Regions from separate parts of the Homo sapiens genome. Here region 1 is linked to region 2. The links are contacts of gene promoters, found by promoter capture Hi-C in blood cells and fetal thymus (Javierre and others, 2016). All regions are on one chromosome and are shown on one strand. The core of a region is centred on a gene start or on the middle of the fragment in contact, and the rest is flanking DNA. Distances in the headings are between cores, read along the strand shown.

Region 1 (2,700 bases), core at 173-2,672, 560 kb after region 2:
GGCTGCATAGTATTCCATGGTGTATATGTGCCACATTTTCTTAATCCAGTCTATCATTGATGGACATTTGGGTTGGTTCCAAGTCTTTGCTATTGTGAATAGTGCTGCAGTAAACATGTGTGCCTGTGTCTTTATCGTAGAATGATTTATAATCCTTTGGGTATATGCCCAGTAATGGGATTGCTGGGTCAAATGGTATTTCTAGTTCTAGATCCTTGAGGACTCGCCACACTGTTTTCCACAATGGTTGAACTAATTTACACTCCCACCGACAGTGTAAAAGCGTTCCTATTTCTCCACATCCTCTCCAGCACCTGTTGTTTCCTGACTTTTTAATGATTGCCATTCTAACTGGTGTGAAATGGTTTCTCACTGTGGTTTTGATTTGCATTTCTCTAATGGCCAGTGATGATGAGCATTTTTTCATATGTCTGTTGGCTGCATAAATGTCTTCTTTTCATAAGTATCTGTTCATATCCTTTGCCCATTTTTTGATGGGGTTGTTTTTTCCTGGTAAATTTGGTTAAGTTCTTTGTAGATTCTGGATATTAGCCCTTTGTCAGATGGATAGATTGCACAAATTTTCTCCCATCCTGTAGGTTGTCTGTTCACTCTGATGATAGGTTCCTTTGCTATGCAGAAGCTCTTTAGTTTAATTAGATCCTGTTTGTCAATTTTGTCTTTTGTTGCCATTGCTTTTGGTGTTTTGGACGTTAAGTCTTTGCCCATGCCTATGTCCTGATGGTATTGCCCAGGTTTTCTTCTAAGATTGTTATGGTCCTGGGTCTTATGTCTAAGTCTTTGATCCATCTTGAGTTGATTTTTGTAGAAGGGGTAAGGGCATTTCCGTTTTCTGCATATGGCTAGCCAGTTTTCCCAACACCATTTGTTAAATAGGAAATCTTTTTCCCCATTGCTTGTGTGTGTCAGGTTTGTCAAAGATCAGATGGTTGTAGCTGTGTGGCATTGTTTCTGAGGCCTCCGTTCTGTTCTGTTGGTCTATATATCTGTTTTAGTACCAGTACCATGCTGTTTTGGTTACTATGGCCTTGTAGTATAGTTTGAAGTCAGGTAGTGTGATGCCTTGAGCTTTGTTCTTCTTCCCCAATATTGTCTTGGCTATGTGGGCTCCTGTTTGGTTCCATATGAAGTTTAAAGTAGTTTTTTTTTCAATTCTGTGAAGAAATTCAGTGGTAGCTTGATGGGGATAGCATTGAATCTATAAATTACTTTGGGCAGTATGGCCATTTTCACAATACTGATTCTGCCTCTCCATGAGCGTGGAATGTTTATCTATTTGTTTGTGTCCTCTTTTATTTCCTTGAGCAGTGGTTTGTAGTTATCCTTGAAGAGTTCCTTCACACCCGTTGTAAGTTGGATTCCAAGGTATTTTATTCTCTTAGTAGCAATTGTGGATGCGAGTTCACTCATGATTTGGCTCTCTGTTATTGGTGTATAGGAATGTTTGTGATTTTTGCACAGTGGTTTTGTATCCTGAGACTTTGCTGAAGTTGCTTATCATCTTAAGGAGATTTTGGCTGAGACGATGGGGTTTTCTAAGTATACAATCATGTCATCTGCAAACAGACAATTTGATTTCCTATTTTCCTAATTGAATACCCTTTATTTCTTTCTCTTGCCTGATTGTCCTGGCCAGAACTTCCAACACCATGTTGAATAGGAGTGGTGAGAGAGGCATCCTTGTCTTGTGCCAGTTTTCAAAGGGAGTGCTTCCAGGTTTTGCCCATTCAGTATGATTTGGCTGTGGGTTTGTCATAAATAACTCCTATTATTTTGAGATATGTTCCATCAATACCTAGTCTGAGAATTTTTAGCATGAAGGGCTGCTGAATTTTGGCAAAGGCCTTTTCTGCGTCTATTGAGATAATCGTGTTTTTTGTCATTGGTTCTGTTTATGTGATGGATTACATTTATTGATTTGCATATGTTGAACCAGCCTTGCATCCCAGGGATGAAGCCAAGTTGATCGTGGTGGATAAGCATTTTGATGTGCTGCTGGATTCAGTTTACCAGTATTTTATTGAGGATTTTTGCGTTGATATTCATAAGGGATATTGGCCTAAAGTTCTCTTTTTTTGTTGTGTCTCTGCCGTGCTTTGGTATCAGGATGATCCTGGCCTCATGAAATGAGTTAGGGAGATTCCCTCTTTTTCTATTGACTGGAATCGTTTCAGAAGGAATGGAAGCATCTCCTCTTTGTACCTCTGGTAGAATTCAGCTGTGAATCTGTCTGGTCCTGGACTTTTTTTGGTTGGTAGGTTAGTAATTATTGCCTCAATTTCAGAACCTGTTATTGGTCTGTTCAGAGATTCAGCTTCTTCCTGGTTTAGTCTTGGGAGGGTGTATGTGTCCTGTTATTTATCCGTTTCTTCTATATTTTCTAGTTTATTTGCATAGAGGTGAGCTTTATTTATTTAGGTGCTCCAATGTTGGGTGCATATATATTTACAATCATTATATCTTCTTGATTAATTGGCCTTGTAATCATTATATAATGACCTTCTTTGTTTCACTTTATAGTGTCAACTTAAAGTCTGTTTTATCTGATACGAGGTTAGTTACCTCTGTTCTCTTTTGGTTTCCATTTTCATGGATTATCTTTCTCAATATTTTCACTTTCAATCAATGTATGTCCTTAAAAGTGAAGTGAGGCCAGGCATACTGGCTCATGCTTGTAAT
Region 2 (2,720 bases), core at 183-2,682:
ATTTCAGTATATATCATTCCAGCCATAGATACATTTAGGAGTCCCCAGGCTAAGACCACTTTCCTAGCCTCTGTTTCTTTTCTCATCTTGATGGTTCTGTCAATAAGGGAAGCACTAGGGTGTGCCTCCCCCTGCATCTATGAAAAAACAAAAAGCACAGGAATTAACCAGAAGAAACTATTGCTCCATTTAAAAACCAAATTTTGCATCCCTTATAAAGGTAACTGAAACCGCATATACCTTCTCTCATCTTTAAAATGTTTTATCAAAACTTCTTCCATTTTAATATCAGTATATGAAAAGGGAACCCAAAATTATATGTAACTTAATTGGCATCACAGTGTAATCAACAGAGAAGTGGCTGGTTATTTATCTATTTATTTGTTTTGAGACGGAGTCTTGCTGTCTCCCAGGCTAGAATGCAGTGGCGCGATCTCGACTCACTGCAACCTCCGCCTCCCGGGTTCAAGCGATTCTCCTGCCTCAGACTCCCGAGTAGCTGGGATTACAGACGCCCGCCACCGCGTCCGACTGATTTTTGTATTTTTAGTAGAGACGGGATTTCAACATTTTGGCCAGGCTGGTCTCGAACTCCTGACCTTGTGATCCACCCGCCTCGGCCTCCCAAAGTGTTGGGATTACAGGCGTGAGCCACCGCGCCCAGCCGTGGCTGGTTATTTAAGAACAATTTAATACTTCCAATACATAAAAATGTCTTATTTTGTAATTTAAGGGTTATGTCTAGAAATACTTTGTATTTTGTCTTTGGGGTATGTTACACGGACTAGGCAAAAGGCTAACTTCAGAAACTCAAAATGTCAAGTTTTGGGAGACTATATTCCATATCTGCTGTAAGTCATAAAGACTGTTGTACATCCTCATGCAGACGCCATTACTATCTCAACAACTCTGCACTTGGACAGCTGTACTCCAGGGCTCTCCCTTTTGTGTGTGGATAAAGGACAAGGATCCAAGTTTTAGAAGGGCACGTACTTATGATGGGGTGGTGAGCGGAGTAAGAGGGAGAGAGGGGAAAACGTGCATTGTTTTGGTCCACATTTGGGATTTATAATTCCTCCTTTCTTCAGCTAGGCTCAACTCTTACAGACCGTGCAAAACTTGTTCCAGCGACAAGCAGTCGTATCCCACAGAGGACAGAGCAATAGCTTTCGCGCCACTCAGCCCCCGCGTCCCAATTTCCCAGTCCAGAGCTTCCCTCCCCGGCTCCTGGGCACGAACTTCAGCAACCCTATTGCTTCTTTCTTCCCTTCCCCTAGAGAGGCGGAACGCCTAGCCACATCCCCCTTGGCTGAACCCAGGACAGATCAGCAGGCGCGGAACTCCCACAACCCGCGTAGATTCCAAGACAGGAAGCACAAACACGACCCCGAAAACGCACCATGTCCTCTGGCCGGAAAACGCAGGCTCGCGCCACTCTCTCTGGGCATGCGCAAAGCCAAGCTCAAGCGGGAGGCCACCGGCAAGCGGCTCTAAAGTTACCGGAAGAACTAGGTAGTCTCTTCTCGCGAGAAAGGGAGGGGTCGCAGGCCCAGGCGCTCGGAGCGTTACCAGGGAAACAGGTCTCGGTTTTGCGGCTCCCACTCAGCTGCGGGAGAAAGCTAAGCAGCAAAATTCAGACCAGGCTCTGAACCCGCAGTAAAAAGTAATAATTGTAACAAGCTGAATTTTGTATCTATTAATATAATTTTAGCTTCCCTAGGGCATTTATGGACTCACATGTGTAAACTGATTAAGTAGGGCGGCTCACCGTAGGATAGAGTGGCGTGATAAAGTGGCCAGACACCATCAGTGACAAAGCATTTCTTTCCCCTGTGTTAAAGTATCTATGTCAAGAGTCCTGACCCCATGTAATTTTTTTTTTGGTAGAGACAGGGTTTCGCCATGTTGGCCAGTCTGGTCTCGATTTCCTAACCTCAAGGGATCCGCCCGCCTCAGCCTCCCAAACGCCTGCTGGCCTCCCACCGCCTTTTGGGATTACAGGCGTGGCCCACCGCGCCCGGCCTAAATTCTTAATCTGTTTAATAGGGTGCAGCAATAACAAGCACACCCAAAATTTGTTTTATTGAAGTTGCTAGTGGTTTTGAGGTTAAAAATAATAACACATTTTCGTATGTATTTTTTGGAAGAGCTGCTCATCCTGAGGAAAAGGTTGAGCTTTGTTTTATTTAGCACAAATACCTACAAGTGTGCCGCTGAGCCAGGCGCACGGATATAGAAAATAAGACCTTCCTGGTTATTACCCAGAGGAGCTCAACCCCAGCGGAGGCCCACAGATGCATTTCGGTGGCAGGTGAGGTGGATGCAGTGCTCCCCAAGGAGGCGCATCCAGCCCAGCCCCAGCTCTCGCGAGCTTCCTGGAGGAGATGACGCGTTAGAGTCCACAGCCAGAAACCCAGGGCCTGGGGACTTGTTCTGAAGTGTGCCTCCTAATAAAAACATTAAGCCATGCCACAGTAAGCTAGTGGATTACATCATGTATGTCCAATGGCCAAAGTTTTTCCTAAAATGATCCTAAGATTAATACCACGTGGTATTGTATATTAATGAAAATCGGCAGGTATGCTGTGCTCTTGAAGAGCTGTTAAGTTTTATCATTTTTAGATTGCTTTAGCAGCAATGTTGTTTTGCTCTAGTTTTAGATTTAGAGATGAACTAACTGGAAAATTGTTCAAAGTGAAAGGGCTCAAGGTGCAATCAAA

What was found. Contacts are between HindIII fragments. The CHiCAGO score rates a contact against its expected background, and 5 or more counts as called.
Region 1: a contact is called between a fragment that was not itself captured here and the fragment with the promoter of TMEM209 in region 2, in 1 of 17 cell types (naive CD8 T cells). The highest score is 5.4, in naive CD8 T cells.

Annotation. Positions count from the first base shown.
Region 1 is chr7:130,764,800-130,767,499 of GRCh38, forward strand. All of the region lies in intron 3 of LOC105375508 (a long non-coding RNA gene), which reads left to right. Among named protein-coding and RNA genes, the nearest start is that of KLF14, 32 kb to the left of the region's middle. The HindIII fragment of the contact is 4,409 bases long and covers 1-2,700 here.
Region 2 is chr7:130,203,974-130,206,693 of GRCh38, forward strand. TMEM209 (transmembrane protein 209) reads right to left here and starts at 1,433. Exons shown (of 15, transcript NM_032842.4): 1 at 1,400-1,433; 2 at 1-137. The coding sequence starts at 1,402. It also overlaps a transcript of SSMEM1 not described here. RefSeq lists a silencer at 1-210 and enhancers at 872-1,671, 1,348-1,527, 1,588-1,697. The HindIII fragment of the contact is 16,046 bases long and covers 1-2,720 here.